Regions from separate parts of the Homo sapiens genome. Here regions 2, 3 and 4 are each linked to region 1. Evidence: promoter capture Hi-C in 16 types of primary human blood cells and fetal thymus (Javierre and others, 2016). All regions are on one chromosome and are shown on one strand. Each heading gives the region's core, a stretch centred on a gene start or on the middle of the fragment in contact. The rest is flanking DNA. Distances are from core to core; before and after follow the strand shown.

Region 1 (2,700 bases), core at 171-2,670:
ACCTCCCCGGTGATCCAATCGCCTCCCACCAGGCCCCAACTCCAACACTGGGGATTACATTTCAACATGAGATTTGGGTGGGGACACAGATCTAAACCATATCAATAGGCCAATGTATGTTTATGGGGAGAAAAAAATCTGGTTATCTTTTTTTTTTTTTTTTTTTCCGTGACAGAGTCTTGCTCTGTCGCCCAGGCTGGAGTGCAGTGGCATGATCTCGGCTCACTGCAACCTCTGCCTCTCAGGTTCAAGCGATTCTCCTACCTCAGTCTCCCGAGTAGCTGGAATTACAGGCACGCACCACCATGCCCGGCTAATTTTTGTATTCTTAGTAGATATGGGTTTTCACCATGTTCTCCTGGCTGGTCTCGAACTCTTGACCTCATGGTCCGCCCGCCTTGGCCTTCCCAAAGTGCTGGGATTACAGGCGTGAGCCACCGCACCCAGCCCCTGGTTATCTTGAAGAAAGATTTTAGATGGGTTTTTTTCTGATTTTGCTTTATTCTATTATTTATTTGTATCAACCAATGTAAGCCAGATTCCAAATTGCTAACTATAATGACGATATTTTAACCAAAAAATATAAAGGAAGAAAATAAAATATGTTCCTTCACGTATAGGATCCTCCTTAATGCTACTGCATTAAATAAATCATAGGCATTGGGTGTCTGACATCAATGCCAAGCGCTTCACCAGTTATACTTGCTTTGAAGTATTGGGCAATTTAAGAGCTTCTCTGAAATTTGGTGTTTTTACCTCTTCAGTAGACATAATACCATGAAAAGTGTAAACGAAAGAAGATAGCTTTTCCATGAGGACAGGGCTTCCCCACTGGCCCTCTCAAATGATGATTGTTTTTCCTGCCAAACCAGTGGTACCACAGCGTCTGGAGTAGGGGCTGGCACCTTCTTTGTTCTTCATTGCCTCTCCCAAACCATTGTACTTGCTCACTCTTCCAACTTTTAGTTTTGGCCTCATATTATCAGTTTATAGTAATCAATCATCAATCATCTACTGACCCCTAAAAAGTCATTCCCCATTTAGTCCTTGAAGATTGTATCTCCTCGCTTGTTCTCTTTCCAATAATCCTCCGTAGTCCTGGGAGGCGTTTAGACTTCAGGAATTGCTGTCTATTCAATATTTTCGCTCAAGGACTCAGGCAGAGGGAAGGACGACTCTCAGGGTCACAGTCCACATTCCCTACCAAGCGCTCAGCGATATAGGATTCGTTCCCCATGGGCAGTGCGGGAATCGTAGGCAAGGAGCACCGCGGAGTCCCATCGCTTTTCCCTGAAGGGTGAGATTCTGAACGTTTTTCCCTCAGCATTCTGAGTGTAATCCAAACGCTCAGTGGAGTCGTGGTCCATTTGACCCACGCAGGGGGATCCGGGGAATTCTGGGAAATGTAGTCCCGCCAATCAGTGGAGTCGCGGGCACTTCCGCTCCAGGGAAGAGGGGGCGATTGTCACGGCACATTCCACGGTAGTTTCTTCCAGTTCCGCGACTCGCGGGCCCCTCCTAATGTCAGGGACTTAAGATTGGGGCTCGCTGGGACCTGGTGGTCCGGTTATGGGAAAAGAAGCCTCGTGGGAGAGCAGAGGTTTGGTGGGGCGAGGGCGGCGGCTTTTGTTGTGTCAGCGGAGCCTTCTTGGGCTGGGGCTCCCCTCGTGTCCCGCGGCGGGAGGCGGGGGGCATTGGGACTTGGTTGGGTCGCGTCTCGCCTGGTTTGAGGGTTTCCGGGGCTCTGAGCTCGCCCACTCCGCCTCCCTGCACTCCAGGCGCGCAGTCACTTTTTTACAGTGCAAGGTTGGCGTGTTAATCTCCCTGGGCCTCTCCTTGCTGTTCTTTAAAATGGGGACGTTAGGACCATCTTTGTAGAATCGTTTTGGTAACTGGAATAGGTTACACAACACAAACAGTCCCTGTCACTTGGTGAGTGGTGGTTTCTTGTTACTTTCCCACGAAACCTGTTAGGTCCCCCGGTGGGGTCAGAGCTCCAGCAGCAGGGGCCTCAGCCCTTATCTCTGATCCCTGCAGGACGCTGGACGATCCCGGACGCCTTCTGACCTCTTTTTAGGCAGGCGAGGGTTGCGTCCACTTCCACGAAGGGAGGGGAGCATTTAACTTTTCTCAGGGACAGCGACCCAGTCAGGATGTTTCACAGCTTTCTCCTTCCCCAGCCTGAAAAAGGACTGCGCGGACTGACTTCTTGGCTACTGAAAGCAAAGCTCCACGTGAGTGTGACTTGTCATTTTTCTTTTACAGAGACTGTATCTTTGTAGCATGTGTAATAGGGCATGGGCATTTATAATAATTAAGCCTTAATTGCTAACTTCAATTCTAGGGGATTTATACAATTAGATACGTTTAAGCCGCAACGTGACTCTGTGGAGAGGTACTGGTCATCCAAGTAGTAAGAGGTGAAACTTGGGTTGGAACCTAGGCATTCAGGGTCAGAGCCCGAGTTGATCATCTCTTGGATATATTCTCATTGAGGCAGAGGAACTAGCTGTACTCAGGTGGGGAAAGTAAGTTAGAACTTGATTAAAGGACCTTAAGAGCAAGGCTAATTGCCTTGGAGTTTTCTCAGTTTTTAAAAACTGTCAACTATTTTGTTTCATTTATTACAAATATTTCACATTCTAATAGAACCGTATCACTGTGAAGCATTCAGAAATTACAGAAATACGAAGATACAAA
Region 2 (2,774 bases), core at 262-2,761, 99 kb before region 1:
ATGCTCTGTCCAATTCCACTTCAGGAAAGCCTGCCACAGAGTTAGTCAGAGTGATGTTTTATTAGAATAATGCTGACCTCCATGTTTTTGATTTTTGAATTATTCTCACACTTTGGAATTAAGGAATTTCTCATTACAAATTATGCTTTAGATACTTTGTGTATAATTATGCTCTTGGTTTCTAAGCATTGCTGTCAGGTTATACAGGGCAGTGAGTAGACATATCTGTGAAGCATTAACTCTGGGCATTGTGGTGAGTGTAATGGTAGAAGTATTTTCAATGTGTTGTGAGGGAAGGGAATATACCAATTCATGATAGGTGAGTGGGCTATTGGTATAAGTGAAAGAAGGTCCAGCTGCTTATCTCTTATAGAAAAAAGCCAAAATAACAACAGGAAAGTGTGATAAAAAGAGTGAATTTTATTACTTGTTGCTAGCAAGGGAAAGAGTGATTGGAATCTTTTCCAAAAGTTGCCACTTTTCAATTTCTGGAGAGAGGGCCACAGTTTAAGAAGTGGGCTTGGAATGCAGAGAGGTAAGGGGGTTTAGGAGGTACCTGATGGCATGTCTCGCTCTGATGATCTTGAATTATTGTTGCATCTGGTGAAGGGGCCAGCACGATCATGGGCTCAATCAGGTTATAAATTAATGGACTGTCAATCTTGCAGTTCATCTGTAGCCAGGAGGAGAGAATTCCAGAGCTGCCTGATCCTCATCAGTATTCTTCCCCTGAAGCTTCTAAGGAAATATGTGAGCAGATAAGTGAGCGCGGTGTGAGCTTAACAAGCATCCTGGTAAATAAATGTGTATAGGGCATGGAAGCATAAGGTGGGAAAAAGAAGGGAGTGGAGTTTTAAAGCAGATTTGGAGGCTGTATTTCAACACGAAAGAAAACACATCTGTAGTTTGTCTCAAAGCTACGTCTTGAGACTGGGGAGAAGTGGGAAAGAAAAGACGGTCTTTAAAATGTAGTTTGAAGCTAAGGTGCTTGGTTACACAGGCCCCAAAATACTATTAGGCCAACCAGTCCAACCTTGCTTAAACTTGAGTAATGATTCAAATATCATAAAATGCATCACTTTAAAATATATCCTTTAGTGGTTTTTTAGTAAATTCCCAAAGTTGTGCAACTGTCACTACTCTCTAATTTCAGGTTTTTTAAATCGGCCCAGAAAGAAATCCCCTATCCATTGGCAGTCACTCCCAATCCTCATCCTTTCTCCACTAGCTCCTGGCAACCATTATTCTACTTTCTGTTTCTACAGATTTGCCCATTCTGAATATTTCATGTAAATGAAATCATACAACATGAGCTCTCTTCTGAATCACATCTCTTAGCTTTCATTTCTCTTGGTGTATACTTAGGAGTGAAATTGGGTAATAAGCTGTATTAGTCTGTTTTCCCACTGCTATAAAGTACTACCCGAGACTGGGTAATTTATAAAGAAAAGAGATTTAATTGACTCACAGTTCCAAGGATTGACAGGAAGTATGACTGGGAGGCCTCAGGAAACTTACAATCATGGTGGAAGGTGAAGGAGAAGAAACATTAGAACAGAAAAGAGAGAGCAAAGGGGAAATGCCACACACTTCCAAACAACCAGATTTCATGAGAACTCACTCACTATCATGAGAATAGCAAGGGGAGGTGGAGGTTGCTATGAGCTGAGATGGCGCCATTGCACTCCAGCCTGAGCGGCAGAGCGAGACTCTGTCTTAAAAAAAAAAAAAAAAAAAAAAAAAAGACATTCCTTAGAAAAGCAGGGATTGATAATAATCAGTTGTGTTATCTTTTTGTAGTGAAATAATTTGAAATTCACAGGAAATTGCAAGGGAAGTACAGAGAAACCCCGAGTCTTCCATCTACATTCTTAATTACATTTTACATTTTACATAATTTTAGTAAAATATCAAAACCAGGAATTCAACATTGGTACAATGTGTGTGTATACCACTTTTATTTGTCGTATTTCATGTAGATTTAATGGAATCACCAAGGCAGTGATGATACAGAAAGAACTATTCCATCACCACAAAGATCTCTCTTGAAGTATCCCTTTATAGTCAACCCAACTTGTGTCCCTACCATTCATTACCCCTAGCAACTACTCATCTGATGTCCATCTCTACATTTTGTCATTTTGGGAATGACATATAGATGGAATCATGTATTATGTACTTTTTCAGATTGTCTTTTTACTCAGCATAACACCCTTTAGCTCAACTTGTCCAGCCAGTGGCACACATGCAGCCCAGGACGGCTTTGAATGTGGCCCACCACAAATTTGTAAGCTTTTTAAAAACATCATGAGATTTTTTTTTTTTTGCTATTTTCTTTTTAGCTCATCACCTATCATTAATCTTAGTGTATTTTATTTAATGCTGTGAGTATCTGTTTCTGTGTTCAAATACCATCCATAACTCTTCTTAAGTGAATTGGGTCTTTGTGTTTTTTGCTCCTTTTCTTCTTAGACTATTTTATGGTTGAGTTGTGAGAGTTGTTTATATATTGTAGATATAAATTTTTCGTCAGATATGAGATCTGCAAACACTGACAAAGCTCTAGGTACTGACAGTTTTCCTACACTGTCTTCTTAAAATTTTATGATTTTACATTGATATTTCACATTTAAATCTATGATCCAATTTGACTTAATTTTGAAATAAAGTCTCAGATTCTTTTTCTTTTATGCACATGGATGTTCAGTTTTCCCAGCAGTCTTTGATGAAAACACTGTCCCATTTCTATTTATTTGCTTTAGCATTTTGGCACA
Region 3 (2,700 bases), core at 105-2,604, 76 kb after region 1:
CATTTGTTTTAAATCTCCATTCTGTTACCCTATTTCTGTCAATCTAATTGTTATTTCTTTTAGGTCAACTATATTTTCTTTCTAGGAGCTTTAAGGTTGTTGTTTCCAGTTCTTTATGTTCGTTTAGTCTTTTGCATTTCTGAGTTTTATTGTGATTTGTTTAGGGTATGTTTATTTTTATTTATACTGTTTAGAATTTCTATATGCGAACTTGTATCTTTTACCAATTGTGTGAAATTCTCAGCAATTGCATCTTGAAATTAAAACCTCTCAGTCATTCCCTCCATCCTGCCTTCTCTTCTCCCATTCCTGTTAGACAAATACGGAAGCCTCTCAATTTATCTTTCATGTTTCTTGATTTTTCGTTTGTGCTTTATCTTTCTCTTTGCTGTGTGTTTTTCTCTGTGCACATAAAATAAAAGAGATGTACCAATGATCGTTTCCAGGCTTCATGAAGTAAATTGACCCAGAATGATACGTTTTAGAAAACTGATAACAGTGTCAGTAAAATATTACTAGCTGGGCAACAAATTACTAAAAAGAAACCTTAAGTCAGATTTCGGCTTTTCAGAAATTAAAGGTGACTTTCATAGGAGAGCAATATTTGCAAGGCAAGTGTGTGATGCAAAGTATCATCTGCTTGTTTTTTTTTTTTTTTTTTTTTTGAGACAGAGTCTCACTGTGTCATCCAGGTTGGAGTTCATTGGCGTGATCTTGGCTCACTATAACCTCCACCTTCCAGGTTCTAGCAATTCTCATGCCTCAGCCTCCCAAGTAGCTGGGATTACAGACCCGCACCACCACGCCTGGCTGATTTTTTTTATTTTTGGTAGAGATGAGGTTTTGCCGTGTTGGCCAGGCTGGTCTCAAACTTCTGACCTTATGTGATCCTCCCTCCTTGGCCTCCTAAAGTGCTGGGATTACAAGCATGAGCCACTGTGCCAGGCCTGGCTAAACAGCAAGAAGCCATGAAGAAGCTTTTTTGTAACTATAAGAGAAAGGGACTCCTGGTTCTTAGAACTCTCCATCTACTTATTTAATCCTTGGAAAAACCCTATGAGGGAGGTACGATTTATGATTCTTACCATATCCTCATTGTACACATAACAGAAGTGAGGCACAGAGAGGGTTTTTAATATCCCCAAGGTTACACAGCTGGTAAGTATCATTTCTAGGAATTAAACCCAGATACTTGACTTGAGAGCCCTCATATGTTGTTACATTGCCTCTCGTTTCCTGCTGTCTCTGCCATCAGAAATCCTTGTAGCAAGGATGCTGCACTTGTGCAGACTGTTCACTGCCCAATGGCACTGAACTATCATGCCATTTAGTAGCTGGAATACAGTCCATGTTCTGCTTACCAAGCTGTATGTGGCTATACCTGTCTGAATGTAGGGCTATTTCTCTAATTTCCTCATATGTACACATGGGCTAACAGCAGGCTTGTGTCTCATGGCGTCTTTGGTCTCCCCCAGTTATGCCATCTCAGAACTATGACCTTCCCCAGAAGAAGCAGGAGAAAATGACCAAGTTTCAGGTACGTAAAGGATTCCTTGCTGTCTTTTAAAATGTGATTTATTTCTCAAAGATAACAGATTTATTTTTTCTCTTTCTTGGAAAGGTTAGTGGGAAACAGATATTCAGGACATGTGGTATGCTGACATGTATGTGTTTTTTTGTTTTAGTTTATCACCTTTACTATTTTACAAAACAGTGTTTGAAAAAATAATAGAAGCTTTAATCAGAAATAATCTATGCTACTACCCTGCTTATGAACTAGCTTTTTTCATTTTCCCATGTTCCTTTTTCATACACATTTTGCAATACTTGAGTAGATGAAATTTTCAATTGTGCATTCTCCACTTAATTGCATCACCTGCATTGTAAGTGAGTACATCATATGCCATTGAATTGCAGTGCCCTTAAAAGACAACAAAAACTATTTCTTATTTAGCCTTTCAGAAATTCAGAAATTTTAAGAATTTTACTACTTTAAAGTAAATCCAGTGACTTTTTTCCCTACATATAAAAACAATTCCTTCAAAAGAAATTCTGGTGGAATTCAATATTATTTGTCCTTAAAGTTTTAGGAACTCTGCATTGAAGAGGTTTATGTCTCAGTTTCATGTCAGTTCCCTCAGGTGTTTTGTAAACAGAACATCTAAAGAATGACATGGTGTAATTTTATTAGATGCTTTCAGAGAAGAAGAGCTATATATTTTTCCCGTTTATGTTTTTATCACTCATTTATTTCTTGTATGAATTTATTTCATCAAAGTAACTACATGTACGTAAGGTCTAGTAGTACTTAGATGTCTTGCTAGCCCTTTCCATCTGTCATTGCATTTTTCAGATGTGAGGATGGAGATGATTTATTTGCATTTTAAATATGAAGAAACAGGTTATGGGAACATTTTATAACTGCCCCAAATTTCCCAGGTAGCTGACTCATTGGACACTGAAGCTTCCAACTATTAGGAATATCTGGCATTCTATTTTCATGTAAAGGCAGACAGAACAAAAGAGTTTTCCATTCACAGAGATGAGCACATATGATAGAAGTACCTGATGTTACCTTTTTATTCTTTTGAGACAGAGTTTAATTCTTGTCACCCAGGCCGGAGTGCAATGGCATGTTCTTAGCTCACTGCAACCTCTGCCTCCCAGGTTCAAGCGATTCTCCTGCCTCAGCCTCCCAAG
Region 4 (2,851 bases), core at 159-2,658, 95 kb after region 1:
GTGAAAAATAACCTGCAAATACATGAAGACTTCATGAAGAAATCACCATTTCATGAGCATATTAAAACTGACACAGAACCAAAACCCTGCAAAGGTAATGAATATGGCAAAATCATTAGTGATGGCTCCAATCAGAAATTACCCTTAGGAGAGAAACCCCATCCATGTGGTGAGTGTGGAAGGGGCTTCAGTTATAGCCCAAGGCTTCCCCTTCATCCGAATGTTCATACAGGAGAAAAATGCTTCAGTCAAAGCTCACATCTGCGAACTCATCAGAGAATTCACCCAGGAGAGAAACTCAATAGATGTCATGAATCTGGTGATTGCTTCAATAAGAGCTCTTTTCATTCTTATCAATCTAATCATACAGGAGAGAAGTCTTATAGATGCGACAGTTGCGGCAAGGGATTCAGTAGCAGCACGGGTCTTATCATTCATTACAGAACTCATACTGGAGAGAAACCCTATAAATGCGAGGAATGTGGTAAATGCTTTAGTCAAAGTTCAAATTTTCAGTGCCATCAGAGAGTCCACACTGAAGAAAAACCATACAAATGCGAAGAGTGTGGTAAGGGCTTCGGTTGGAGTGTTAATCTCCGTGTTCACCAGAGGGTCCACAGGGGTGAGAAGCCCTATAAATGTGAGGAATGTGGTAAGGGCTTCACTCAGGCTGCACATTTTCACATCCATCAGAGAGTCCACACTGGAGAGAAACCCTACAAGTGTGATGTGTGTGGTAAGGGCTTCAGCCACAATTCACCATTAATATGCCATCGGAGAGTCCACACAGGAGAGAAGCCATACAAGTGTGAGGCGTGTGGGAAAGGCTTTACCCGTAATACAGATCTGCATATTCATTTCAGAGTTCACACGGGAGAGAAACCCTATAAATGTAAGGAGTGTGGTAAGGGCTTCAGTCAGGCTTCAAATCTTCAAGTCCATCAGAATGTCCACACTGGGGAGAAACGATTCAAGTGTGAAACGTGTGGGAAGGGCTTCAGTCAGTCCTCAAAGCTTCAAACCCATCAGCGAGTCCACACTGGAGAGAAACCATATAGATGTGATGTGTGTGGTAAGGACTTCAGTTATAGTTCAAATCTTAAACTACACCAAGTAATTCACACTGGAGAAAAACCATATAAATGTGAGGAATGTGGGAAGGGCTTCAGTTGGAGATCAAATCTTCATGCACATCAAAGAGTTCACTCAGGAGAAAAACCCTATAAATGTGAGCAGTGTGATAAGAGCTTCAGTCAGGCCATAGATTTTCGGGTACATCAGAGAGTCCATACTGGAGAGAAGCCATACAAATGTGGTGTCTGTGGTAAGGGCTTCAGTCAGTCCTCTGGTCTTCAATCCCATCAGAGAGTCCACACGGGGGAAAAGCCATACAAATGTGATGTGTGTGGAAAGGGCTTTAGATACAGTTCGCAGTTTATATACCATCAGAGAGGCCACACTGGAGAAAAACCTTACAAATGTGAAGAGTGTGGGAAAGGCTTTGGTAGGAGCTTGAATCTTCGCCATCATCAGAGGGTCCACACGGGAGAGAAACCCCATATATGTGAGGAGTGTGGTAAGGCCTTCAGTCTCCCCTCAAATCTTCGAGTCCACCTGGGTGTTCACACCAGGGAAAAACTCTTTAAATGTGAAGAGTGTGGTAAAGGCTTCAGTCAGAGTGCACGTCTTGAAGCCCATCAGAGAGTCCACACTGGAGAAAAACCATACAAATGTGACATATGTGATAAGGACTTCCGTCACCGTTCACGTCTTACATATCATCAGAAAGTCCATACTGGTAAAAAGCTTTAGAAATGAGAAATGTGTTACCAACTTTTGTCTGAATGCACATCTTCAAGTTTTTGGCTAGTCCATGCTGGTGGTAAACCCTGTAAAACTACTGAGAGTGGAAGGGGGTTTGTTCACACTTGGAATCTTTCTAACAAATCCATCAAGATGATAACACAGAACCATGAACAGGAATAGAACTCGTATTTAGGGGAGAAATAGGGCTGGTGGCTCTCTTGGTAAGATCTAGTTAATATAAATGATCACCTTTCATTGTGAATATATGCCTGAAGATAATGTGTGGAAGGATATTTGCCATATGCTAACTGGTTTTTTGGCCAGGGAGAGTTTTGGGTTATTATCCCTTTTCTTTAATTTTCATTTTATACTTACAGTGATCATTATTTTCATAAAAGCTGTAAAGCTATGAAAAATGAATAAAATTACTAAAAATTTTCTGTAGCTAAGGACTCATGATTCTTTTATATGGTATATAGGTGTAAAATTAAGGAATATATCCCCAGAGATGAATCTTTGATCTTCAGAAGTAAATTTATATCTGCTGTAGAGGTGTATTAAAGGATAGTAGTATGGCCGGGCACGGTGGCTCACGCCTGTAATCCCAGCACTTTGGGAGGCCAAGGTGGGCGGATCACAAGGTCAGAAGATTGAGAACATCCTGGCTAATATGGTGAAACCCCATCTCTACTAAAAATACAAAAAATTGGCCAGGCATGGTGGCACGTGCCTGTAGTCCTAGCTACTCGGGAGGCGGAGGCAGGAGAATCGCTTGAACCCAGGAGGTGGAGTTCGCAGTGAGCCAAGATTGCGCCACTGCACTCCAGCCTGGTGACAGAGCGAGACTCCATCTCAAATAAATAAAGAAGAAAGAGAGAGAGAGAGCAAGAGAAAGAGAAAAGAGGATAGTCGGTGCATCATTGTTTTAGTAGCAAACATAGAAATACTTGGATTGCCAAAGTATTTTGTGCTTTACCAATCCAGTGGCACACTATGCAGACATCAAATGGGAAAAGGTAAATTTTTAGCTGTGGATATTGGAAGA

Evidence for each region. Contacts are between HindIII fragments. The CHiCAGO score rates a contact against its expected background, and 5 or more counts as called.
Region 2: a fragment that was not itself captured here is called in contact with the fragment with the promoter of ZNF234 in region 1 in 4 of 17 cell types (fetal thymus, naive CD4 T cells, activated CD4 T cells and 1 more); the score reaches 6.3 in fetal thymus.
Region 3: a fragment that was not itself captured here is called in contact with the fragment with the promoter of ZNF234 in region 1 in 9 of 17 cell types (total CD8 T cells, naive CD4 T cells, naive CD8 T cells and 6 more); the score reaches 8.3 in total CD8 T cells.
Region 4: a contact is called between a fragment that was not itself captured here and the fragment with the promoter of ZNF234 in region 1, in 3 of 17 cell types (naive CD8 T cells, fetal thymus and naive B cells). The highest score is 5.6, in naive CD8 T cells.

What each region holds. Positions count from the first base shown.
Region 1 is chr19:44,140,134-44,142,833 of GRCh38, forward strand. It overlaps ZNF234 (zinc finger protein 234), which reads left to right and starts at 1,421. Exons shown (of 6, transcript NM_006630.3): 1 at 1,421-1,600; 2 at 2,181-2,234. RefSeq lists enhancers at 1,449-1,848, 1,603-2,193, 1,859-1,908. The HindIII fragment of the contact is 9,485 bases long and covers 1-2,700 here.
Region 2 is chr19:44,041,057-44,043,830 of GRCh38, forward strand. No RefSeq gene overlaps it. Among named protein-coding and RNA genes, the nearest start is that of ZNF223, 9.6 kb to the right of the region's middle. The HindIII fragment of the contact is 1,557 bases long and covers 734-2,290 here.
Region 3 is chr19:44,216,316-44,219,015 of GRCh38, forward strand. ZNF227 (zinc finger protein 227) reads left to right here. Exons shown (of 6, transcript NM_182490.3): 3 at 1,476-1,537. The coding sequence starts at 1,478. Among named protein-coding and RNA genes, the nearest start is that of ZNF227, 5.1 kb to the left of the region's middle. The HindIII fragment of the contact is 758 bases long and covers 976-1,733 here.
Region 4 is chr19:44,235,019-44,237,869 of GRCh38, forward strand. It overlaps ZNF227 (zinc finger protein 227), which reads left to right. Exons shown (of 6, transcript NM_182490.3): 6 at 1-2,250. The coding sequence ends at 1,812. Among named protein-coding and RNA genes, the nearest start is that of ZNF233, 23 kb to the right of the region's middle. The HindIII fragment of the contact is 792 bases long and covers 1,013-1,804 here.